Linked DNA regions of Homo sapiens: all the other regions are linked to region 2. The links are contacts of gene promoters, found by promoter capture Hi-C in blood cells and fetal thymus (Javierre and others, 2016). All regions are on one chromosome and are shown on one strand. Each heading gives the region's core, a stretch centred on a gene start or on the middle of the fragment in contact. The rest is flanking DNA. Distances are from core to core; before and after follow the strand shown. Region 1 has its middle 230 kb from the start of LINC01605. Region 2 holds the start of LINC01605 (long intergenic non-protein coding RNA 1605). Region 3 overlaps LINC01605 (long intergenic non-protein coding RNA 1605).

Region 1 (3,722 bases), core at 70-2,569, 230 kb before region 2:
CTAAAAGCCCCAATTCCACTCCCTAATTAAAAACATTTTTCATTCCAAACCTATAAAAGGCAGATGTGCTGCATTCCCTCAACCACAGATCGCTGCTCTATATTGAGTGCGGCAGCTCCAATCCTTCTTTCCCAGGGCTTGAAAATAGAAGGCCATCAAAGCAGCGTAATCGGTGTTTCTTCCTCCACCTCCTCCTCACCCCCTCTATTTCCTCTTTTGCCGAAAAATATTCATTTCCATCTTTGCAGGGGTTATGTGTTTTAAGCTTCTTACGACACCTCCATGCTGAAATGGAGTGGGATGGTAGCCCATCTTCCAGGATAGACAGAAGGCAGCTCTTATACTTTATTATTCTAAAATGCCTTTTAACCTGGATTTTTTTTTAAACAAAAAAGAAGTTCAGGCAGCAGACCTGGCTTCATCAGCCGTACCGTGAATTTATTCAGGCCCTCTTCAGTTCAGGCATCTAGAAGCCAACTCTTGGGAAGAAGAATGAGTGAAGCGCTTGCCAAGAGGTGGTCAGAAAAATGAAATAAACACTTGCTTATAGTGTTTTTCTACCTTCGATGACTCCTTTACTCCTGAAACGCCTGGAGTTAAGACACTCAGTGTGATTACCTGGTACTGAAAGTTGCAAGTCAAATTCAGAGCATGCTGCCAATGTTTATTTGTAAATCAGCTCTCAGAACCTCTGTTTGAGTAGAGGGAGGGAGAGGATCCTATATCCATTTGTTTTTGTTCATCTGTTTCCTTAAAGGGTTCTCAAACGCCTTTTGTTTGGGATCTTCTCTGCTTTACTCCCAATGATTCTCTATATTACTCAAGGACAGGATCGCCAAGCATTCCTTCAGAACTGTTTCTCCACTGGGTCCAGCGAATGCCCTGAATTCAAAGTCAACCACAAGGAGAAGGTTTTTGGTGGATAAATGTGAGGCTTTCCACTGGCTTGGGCCTCTTGCCATAGTTGAGGTGCTCTCTCGTTTTGTGCACTTTTTCTGGGTTCCAACCAAATGGTCTTATTAAATGTTAAAAAAAAAAATTGCAGTTGTGAGTGATATCAAATACAATCAATAAACCTGAAGGAAAAGAGATCCCAAGGCATTCACAAGACACTTTTAAGATTTAATTGTTCCACAGAATTTTAAGCAAGTAGTAATAAGAAACTAAATTGCATGAAACCAAATATTTTGCTCTAGGCTTCTAATTCATCTCACTTGCTGGTTCCCAAGGGCTGGTGCCAGCACTGTGCAGCCCGGGACTTTCCAGTACAGACAGGGATTGTGCTTCATGCAAGCTAAAGAACTTCCCTGTCTCTTTGAAATGCGGCAGTTGATCAAAGTCTTCCTTACGATGAAAACGCCTGGGATCAAGGACCTAGCTGGCTGAACAGGCTGAAAGATATATTTTACTAAATACAGGGCCCACTTTCTTGTTTATTTCTTAAAAGTGAAAGATCTTGAGGGTTTCTGGAAAAGTCATGGGGGAGGGGAATCTGGTACCAAGAATGAGAGCTGCATCCAGGCATTAGCAGGCACTGAGAAGCAGTGTCAGTTGCTCCAGGGAGGTGCAGCGCAGTCCTAGCAGCTGCAGAGTCTGGAAGCCTCAGGCTGCTTCCCTGTACTTCTCAAAGGTTGAGAGGACCTGTTAATGAGGCGTATCTGCTTCCTCTTGGCTAGACCACTTGGGATAGAAGGAATCCCTCAATTCCCTAAGAAAAGCCTGCCACAAACACTCTACAGACACACAGGCAAAGCACAGGCAAGAGCCCCTCCCCTCCTATCACAGTTCAAAGGATCTTTTGTCCGTTCTGACCAGGGATACCATATCACAAAACAAGAAGACACTTCACCATAGGGCTAGCAGCCGGGGGGCCATGTTTAGTACTGGCTGTGACTTTTAGAACTGTATTGCTCCCAGCACTCTGGGAGACTGAGGCAGAAGGATTGCTTGAGTCCGAGAGTTTGAGACCAGCCTGGGCAACATGGTGAAACCTCATCTCTGCAAAAAATACAAAAATTAGCTGGGCATGGTGGTGCACACCTGTAGTCCCAGCTACTTGGGAAGCTGAGGTGGGAGGATCACTTGAGCCCGGGAGGCAGAGGTGGAGGCTGCAGTGAGCTGTTATCATGCCATTGCATTCCAGTCTGGGTGACAGAGCAAGACCTTGTCAGAAAGAAGAAAAGAGAATAAAAAAAAAGAAAGAAAAGAGAAAGAAATGTATTGCTGCAGAGGTTTAGATGAGGGGAGATGGGCGGTTAGGGATGTGAGATTTGAGATTTGAGGAGCTGAGTGCTTGAGAATAGTAGGCAGTTGAGTCTGGTAAAACAAGCACAGGCTCTAGGGTTGAGAAGACTTTTACATCCTAATCTTGGGAAAGCTTACTTTCTCTAAGCCTCAGTTTCCTTATCTGTAAACAGAAACAGCAATAGTTCCTACTCCATAAAGACAGTGTGGTAGTAGTGAATAAAGAGCCCAAGCAAAGTAGCTTGGGCTATCCCTGGCACTTAGTAGGTGCTCAGTAAATAGTATATATTACTTTAATAATAATTCACAATTATGGGCTGGAATGCAATAGCATATAGAGGGAGGGCATCTGGCCCGGGGTTCAACGGTCTTGAGTGCATTAAAGGAAAGTGAGGGTCCAGTCTCCTGCCAAGAGGAGCCTCTGTGACTGAAGAGCCTCCCAGCCCCCACACCCCCCATGTAACTCTTCCCAGTGGGGCTTTTGCTTGAGTCCAAACTTGGTCTTGGCGCCTTTCCAGAGGCTCAATTCAAGAGAACATTATAGTAATAATATAGCTCCCTATTATACATCAGCATTTAGATAAAGAAGAAAAATGTCCTGTGGGTCTAAACCTAAAGTATTTCAGAAAATTGCTGCCACTAGGTGCTCAGAGATCCTGCCACGAAAACGAATGTACACGTTTCTGGTCAATACAACAATCATGCTGCAACTTCATAAAATTAACATAGATGGCTCCAAAATAACACAGCGGAATAGTGGACACCTCCGGCCTGTGGAGCACAGCAGCCCTTAGACAAGCCAGGCACCATCCCCAACCACCTGTGTGGCCTTGAGCAGAAGTACAGTTTGATGTGGAATTAGAAGAGAAGCTTGTGGAGCACTTCTCAGATTGCTTGGCACATAGTAAGTGCTTAAGCTCATGTCTGTAATCCCAGCACTGTGGAAGACCAAGGAAAGAGGATCACTTGAGGACAGGCATTCAAGATGAGCCTGAACAACAGAGAGAGATCCCAACTCTACAAAAAAATTAAAAATTAGCTGGGTGTGGTGGTGGGCACCTGTAGTCCCAGTTGCTCAGGAGGCTGAGGTGGAAGGATCGCTTGAGCCCAGGAGTTCAAGCCTGCAGTGAGCTATGATCATGCCACTGCACTCCAGCTTGGGTGACAGAGCAAGATCCTGCCTCTATTAAAAAAAAAAAAAAAAGATTGCTTTGTGTATTAGTCCATACTGTCTGAGGCTGGGTAATTTATAAACAAAGGAGGTTTAACTGACTTACAGTTCCACATGGCTGTGGAGGCCTCTAGAAACTTACAATCATGGTGGAAGGGGAAGCAGGCACAAGGCGGCAGGAGAGAGAGCAAGCAAGAGCAGGGAAAACTGCCTTATAAAACCATCAGGTCGCCTGTAATCCCAGCACTATGGGAGGCTGAGGCAGGCAGATCACGAGGTCAAGAGATTGAGACCATCCTGGCCAACA
Region 2 (3,648 bases), core at 395-2,894:
CTTGATACTCTGCCATGGCTTGGCAGTTTGGAAATGGTTTCCTGGTCTGGCTGTCCTAAGGATCCCTGGTTGTGTGACTGGGAACAAACCCTTCAACCTTCCAGGCACAGTTTTCTTCTGTAAAATGAGAGGGTTGGGTGCAAGTTTCCTGAGGCCCTGGGGCCTTGTGGCTGAGTTTATCTCCCCGACTCCCTGTCCATCCTCCTATGGAAGTACTCATAAAGCATTTCACAGCCACAAGGAAAAGGCACACAAGGTCCCCCAGCCCCCACACACAGAGGAGCCACACCTGCACCCCTCCCTCAAGGCCAGGCTTCCTCTCCCCCAGCACACGCAAGTTCTTCTCGGCCTCCCAGCTCTTTTCAGCAGCTCCCCAGAATGGAACGGCCCAGCCATGGCTTCTCAGAGGACAGCTTCTTGGCAGAGCTGGGAGTGGGTGGAGTAGAGCACATTTTTTCCTTTGAGGTCCAAAGGGCTGTCAACCCTCTTCAGCTGCCCTGGGGCCCAACAGCCACAGAGAGAGATTTATGACCTGGATAGCTTTGATCCCAGTCTCCGATAAACATCAGGAACAGCTCGACCCTAAACCCCGAGGAGAAGGTTTATGGATCAGAATGCAGCCTCCTGGAGAAAACGAGCCCAGGAGGGGGTGCCCAGGGACTGATTGGGCCCTTAAAGTTCTCTCATCAACAGACCCACTGCCATCTGCCCTTGCTTTCTGGGGAAAGGGACACAGCTGGGTGGCTGAGGCCTTTGAACAAGAAGCAATGCTGATCAGAGAGAGGTGAAGATCCTGTCAAAGGTTAAACTGGGGAAGGGGTGGAGGCGGTGGGCCCAGGCCTCTGAAATTCCCCACCCTCGCTCACCTGTTCTTCCAAACAGCGTTGTCCATGTTTCTCTAAACCACACACCAAGACAGAGCAGAGAGAGAACGCACCAGATAAGATCTGAGCTGAGAAAGGAATGTTTCATCCGTGGGTTTTGTTGTCCCTGTTCTTCTTGTTGATACTGTTGTTCTTGGTGATGATGGGGGTGGTTAATTGCTTGATTATATTTCATCCCTGTCTTCTTTCCAAAAGGACAGGGGGCCAGGAGAGTCTGTGTGGTCACAAACCCTTCATAGCTTTTTCCCGTCCCCTCCACTTGACCATGTGGGATGGCAGGGAATCCACACCCTCTTGGAACATCCCCTGTTTTGCTGATTGAAAAGAGATCCTAGAAACAGCACTACATCCAAGGTGAAGGAGGGGCCAGCCAGTCTCCTCTGGATGCCACCTCAGATGGGTTGCCTCAAGTTTAAGGTCTCAGCCACATCCATAAAACTGTTCCCCTCTGTGAAGCAACTTCTGCCATGGGGAGGTGGAGAAGGATCTTCTCAAAGCAAGTCCGACAGGCAGAGTCTTCACTCTCCGGGGTCCGGAGTGTTCTATAGACATCGGGAAACATACATCCATCTAAAAAGACACCCTAATAAACCTGCAGCTATTCATTGCACCCAAGAAACCAGCCTGTGGCCCACGCATGCAGGAATAAACACATATTTGCTGAGAACCAAATTGGGTCTAATGACCCTGGCCTGTCTCGCAGGGTCATCCTGAGAAATAGCTGATGTCAGACGACGAGCGTGAGCAGCTGTTCTCCATTTGCACTCAACAAGAGAAAAGGGCCTTAAATTTCAGCGGGAGGGATTAAGGTTAAACATTAAGAACAGCTTCCTGGCTAGGAGGGTTGTGAAACACTGTAATGTGTTACCAAGGATGCTGTAGACATTCCTCTCTCAATGAGACTTTAAAGAGGAAGGAGGTTGGTGATCTGCCCAGGAGGTTTTATTAGAAACTTTATTAGGTCATCTGGTCCATCCGCCTGAAGGCAAGGGCTTGGACTAAACACCCACCAAGCAAGGCCTTTCTGGGCACAGGAAGGCCTCTATAGTCCTTCACAATCAAAAATGCTGAGAAACTCCCTGGGCCCTAGACAGTGAAAAGAGAAACCAGAGTCATCAGCGAGGCCACCCTTTGGGGCCTGATTTCAAGCTTTAGCTAGTGTTAGTCGCCCATAGCAATAAGAGGGAGAAATGTGATTTTCAAACCCTCCGGAGACCAATACAGTTATTTACCAAACAGCACCAAGTGAAGCTTCCCCACCCACAGGGAAAGGACCATTTCCTGAAAATCAGGTCGGCCCCTGGCATTCCAAGGGCAAGCAGATCACCAGTTCTGACGTGTGGGAGCAAAAGGCAAACCATAAGATCACACATCTGGCTGGGCACGGTGGCTCACATCTGTAACTCCAGCACTCAGGGAGGCCAAGGCAGGATCGCTTGAGGCCAGGAGTTCAAAACTAGGTTGGGCAACATAGTGAGACCCCATATAAACTAAAAAAAAAAAACTTAGCTGGGCACGGTGGTGTGCACCTGTAGTCCCAGCTACTCAGGAGACTGCAGCAGGAGGATCGCTTGAGCCCAGGAGTTTGAGGCTGCAGTGAGCTGGAATCATGCCACTGGACTCCAGCCCAGGCAACAGAGAGAGAGACCCTGTCACAAAACAAAACAAAACAAAACAAAACAAAACACCACATCTTATTGCCAGTGGAACAATCCACCCATTTCACAGATTGGGAGACTGGGGCCTAGATATGGGCAATGTCTTCACACAGTTACTTTGTATCAGAGTTAGGACTGGAAAACCCTGGTTAGGAGGCTGACTTTATCACTCACTACCTGCGTGACCTCAAGCAAGTCATTTAACAACCTCCGGCCCTCAGTAGCCTCTGCTACAAAATAAACAGTTTTTAATCAGGAAACCTAATACACGGAGCACTGTCATCAACTCCAGAGCACTATAGATGGAAAGTGACTGCCCTTGTTACCATCACTCTCACTTCTAGTCCTTTCTGTTCATCTAAGCTGCTGTAAATGTAGTCCTCTAACTTGGAGGGGATCCTTCTAAGTTCTCAGATTAACAGAAAAGTAAAATCTTTGATCTTTAAGACCATGGAAGGTATCTCGTTGGTCTTAGTCAACATCCCATCCAAGCCACTTGTTTTGCAGATGAGATAGGAGAGTATCCGCATACACTCAGAGAATGACAGCAGAGAACATCCCAGGCAGAGGTCGGGGTGGGGAGGAAATGCCAAGGATAAGCTTGGTTGACCTCTCAGTGAGGCTCCCTGGCCCTGGGTATAATTTTCAACTCATTAACTTGAAATCCTAGGTATGCTAAGTCATTCTTTGGTCTCTATTTCCTTAGTAGCCTCTGTTTCCACAGCCCCCAAGTTGCCTGGTTCTGGGGTTAGCACCCGGGGGTGGGAGGGTCTCCCAAAGTCATTCTTGACTAACTTGATGAACCCCGGGAATCTTCCAGTCTCTCACCATCTTCAGCCCTCCCCACCCACTCACCTCCTGCCCCGTCCCACCACTGTCTCTAAAAGGTCAGTTCCCACCCAAGGCAAGAGCAACTCAACAAAATACAAGGACATTTGGTAAGCAACTATTATTTGCAAGGCTCTGGGTAAGCAGATATTATCTGATTTGACCCCCCTGCAACCATCATGCAAGATAGTTATCATCGCCCACCTTTTACAGATAAGCAAGCCATGAATCAGAGGTTACCCAACATGACCTAGTGACACACGTAGCAAAAGTGGCAG
Region 3 (3,745 bases), core at 930-3,429, 190 kb before region 2:
CGGGAGGATTGTCCAGGAGTTCAAGGCTGCAGTGAGCTATGATCACGCCATTCACTGCACTCCACACTAAGCAACAGAGTGAGACCCTATCAAAAAAAAAAAAAAAAAAAACTGTCCTTGTTTTATAATTTCCTATTCTTCTTTCATGCATATAATGCCCTCTTTTATCTATTTAAAGATATTAAATATAATTGCTTTTCTTTTAAAGGCCTGTGCTGATGGCTCTATTATCTATGTTTCCTTGATTATAAGAACTTGTCTTGTTTATTTCATTTTAATGGGTTTCCTCAGATGTTTGGCAATTTTTCATTGAGTGTTCATGTTCTCTGGCAGAAGATTTTCACATGTGGCCTGTGAGGCAGCTTTCCGCTGTAGTCTCAGGACAGAGTCACTGTTTACTCACTTCACGCTTAAAATTTTGTAACATTTTTCTCTAACACGGTTTACTTCAGTTTGTCTTGACAAAAACTCTAGATGGTAGACAGAGCATGTAATATCATTATCTTTATTTTACAACTAAATAAAATTCTGAGAAATTGTGTCTTCCCCAAAATGATGCGGTTGATATAATATCAGAGCCAAACTCAGACTCAACCATCTGAGTGCCTATCCCAGCATCATCACACCACACCACAGCTGCCCATGCAGTTGATATAATATCAGAGCCAAACTCAGACTCAACCATCTGAGTGCCTATCCCAGCATCATCACACCACACCACAGCTGCCCATGCAGTTGATATAATATCAGAGCCAAACTCAGACTCAACCATCTGAGTGCCTATCCCAGCATCATCACACCACACCACAGCTGCCCATGCAGTTGATATAATATCAGAGCCAAACTCAGACTCAACCATCTGAGTGCCTATCCCAGCATCATCACACCACACCACAGCTGCCCCTCACGTGGGTCTGCTCAGAGGTCAGCATTATCGTCAGCGTTTCCAGTTCCAAGCGACAAAAACCCAGCCCACGCTGTTCACTTGTGTTTAGGAACTTGTGTGTTTCGTTTATTTCATTTTGATGGCTTTCCTCAGATGTTTGGTGATTTTTCATTGAGTGTTCATCTTCTAACAGAAGCAAGCAAGAAAGAAAGGTAAACAACTTAAGGACGGTAGAACTCGGCCTTGACAATGGCTGGACCCAGGGACCTTCAGGCTCTCAGGATTCTCCTTCTCCATCTCCTGACTCTGCTTCTCTGTGTGCTGGCTCCCTTCTCTCCTTCTGCAGGATGTATTCTTTACATGGTGGAGGACAGGACTTCCAGAATCCCTGGATCCACATCCCAACAGCTCTGCCTACCCACCACCTTCATCCCGTTCCCCAGAAGAAAAGAGAGAATTTTTCTCTCCTACCTTCAGTTTCTAAAATCCTCAAGAAGGACTCAGGTTGGGCCAGCTTACCTGCCTGACCCTCCCCGCTGGACCAGCCACTACAGTCACGGAGATAATCATCATTGGCCTGATCTAGGTTATGGGATCCCCTCTGGGGCTGGAGAGCAGGGCCTAAATGTCAGCCCACCAACAAAATTACAAATAACTTCTCAAAAGGAGAGTACTACTGTTCTACCCTTATTACAGGAAGCCATCTAGTAGGGCTTGTGGTGAATGGCTGCCCTGTAAGGTATGCACATACAAGAACATTGGTTAGCAAAAGATATGGAGACATAGTTGTATGTTATGAACACTGGCCATGCTTCAACCTAATGTGGTGAACAGCATCTGGACTTAGGAGTCAGATAGATTCCAGGTTCAAATCCTGAAGCTGTTGTTTAAGAGCTGTGTGACCTTAGACAATATACTTAACAAGAACACTAGAATATTTGTTATTCCCTTGGGCAATATATTTAAGTTGGCAGATAATAAGCACTCAGTGGTTGCAACTATATCTCTCTAACAGCTGTACTAAGTGTATTTCCTTCTCAACTGTCCAGAAAGCAGGGATTCTCAGCCAGGATTTTGTAGAAGCTCCAGGAAAATCTTCACTTACTTCAAAATTTGTCACAAGCATCTCAAAATAATTTTTAATAAAAATCAGTTTTGTTCCTTTCACTTAGAAAGTAATTCTATTCATGAAGTTCTTTAGGAAAAGGAAGGCATGACACCAAATAAACAGAATCAAGCAACCAAAAAGGGATTTTATGGGCTGAACTGGATTGCCCCAAAATTTATATGTTGAAGCCCTAATACACAGTACCTCAGGATGTGACTGTATTTGAAGTTAGGGCCTTACAATATGTAATTAAGTTTAAATGAGGTCGTATGGGTACACTTCAATCCAATAGAACTAGTGTCACTATAAGATAAGAAAGAGTCCCCAGGGGCACACATGCAGAGGGACAGTCACATGAAGAGACAGCAAGAGGACACCCATCTGAAAACCAAGGAGAGAGGCTTCAGAGGAAACCCAACTCTGTCGTCACCTTGATCTTGGACTTCCAGCCTCCAGAATTACAGGAAAATGAATTTCTGTTGTTTAAGCCAACCAATGTGTGGTATTTTGTTATGATAGCCCAAGCTGACTAACTCATGGGTATCACAACTCTACAAAAAAAAAAAATGTAGGAGTCACTACCTTTGCTCAAGAAGGCCATCTCTATGCAAACTCTGTCACCTTGAAGCCAGATTCTGCCCTTCGCTACCCACCAAACCCATTTCGAATTCTTCAGTTGCAGAAAAAATTACAATAGCAGGCTACCTAAGCTACATGTGGCTTCCTCCATCCACAGCCAGGTGGCTTCAGAACAGCTCCTTTTCAACTCTTCTTGTCCTCGCCTTGTCTTTTCAACACCCATAGAGGTCTTTCCCTACAATGTCATGGCCAAGGAATTGCCCTTCAGGTACCAGGCCCAAGTCTCTTTACCAAGCTCTAGCAAGCTGCTGCTGTGCCATCAAGAGCCCCGGTGTCTTGAGAAATGTAACTCAGGGTTGCTGCTCTTCCGTTTGCTCATTTAATTCTCCTAGAGGTGAGTAATTTGAAAACAATGCAATTACTTGGTGCTTCTGTGTGTGTTTTACATCCATTCAACTTGAGTGACGTGAACTGAATTGACAGCTTCTGCCGGGTACATACAGATGAGTGGTGTACCCACTCACCATGCACCCCAGGAGGAGGAGCTGCCAGCCCTTGGGCAGGGGCAAAGCAGATTTGCTCCCCTGTCACATCCTACTTTCATTAGGATGGAACTCTGAAGTGTCAGCTTCTGTTTACAAATCTGTAAAATGGGGATAATAGTATTTCTTTTAGGCCGGGTGCAGTAGCGCATACCTTTAATCCCAATATTTTGGAAGTCCAAGGCAGGAGGATCACTTGAGCCCGGGAGTTCAAGACCAGCCTGGGCAACATAGCGAGACCCATCTTTACAAATAAATAAATGAATAAATAATATTTATTTTATACAATTGTTATGAGGACTAAATAAATATGTGAGAGACCTAGCAAACCTAATGTTTAATACAAACCAATTCACTTCCCATCAGTTTCTTCATCTGACAAAAAAAAGAAGAAAACAAAAAGGAAAAGAATAAACCCCCCACCATTGCAAAACGATCCAATGACGTCATATGCGGGAGATATGTATATGCATAATATCATCTGCATGGAAAGTCTAATGGTGATCACTTTTATTTATGTAATCAATAGACAGCACTTACCACATAGCACTTACCATGTGCCAAACGCTGTTCAAAGCACTTTATAAACATGAATTAATTTAATTCCTACAACAACCTTGAGGTGGCTCC

Evidence for each region. The method cuts DNA at HindIII sites, captures the fragments that hold promoters and counts their contacts. A CHiCAGO score of 5 or more calls a contact.
Region 1: a fragment that was not itself captured here is called in contact with the fragment with the promoter of LINC01605 in region 2 in 4 of 17 cell types (M1 macrophages, M0 macrophages, total B cells and 1 more); the score reaches 7.3 in M1 macrophages.
Region 3: a fragment that was not itself captured here is called in contact with the fragment with the promoter of LINC01605 in region 2 in 3 of 17 cell types (monocytes, total B cells and naive B cells); the score reaches 5.9 in monocytes.

The regions. Positions count from the first base shown.
Region 1 is chr8:37,369,637-37,373,358 of GRCh38, forward strand. No RefSeq gene overlaps it. Among named protein-coding and RNA genes, the nearest start is that of LINC01605, 230 kb to the right of the region's middle. The HindIII fragment of the contact is 2,112 bases long and covers 264-2,375 here.
Region 2 is chr8:37,598,195-37,601,842 of GRCh38, forward strand. It overlaps LINC01605 (long intergenic non-protein coding RNA 1605), which reads right to left and starts at 1,645. Exons shown (of 5, transcript NR_170186.1): 1 at 867-1,645. The HindIII fragment of the contact is 9,185 bases long and covers 1-2,031 here.
Region 3 is chr8:37,403,027-37,406,771 of GRCh38, forward strand. LINC01605 (long intergenic non-protein coding RNA 1605) reads right to left here. Exons shown (of 5, transcript NR_170186.1): 5 at 3,604-3,745. Among named protein-coding and RNA genes, the nearest start is that of LINC01605, 190 kb to the right of the region's middle. The HindIII fragment of the contact is 8,119 bases long and covers 1-3,745 here.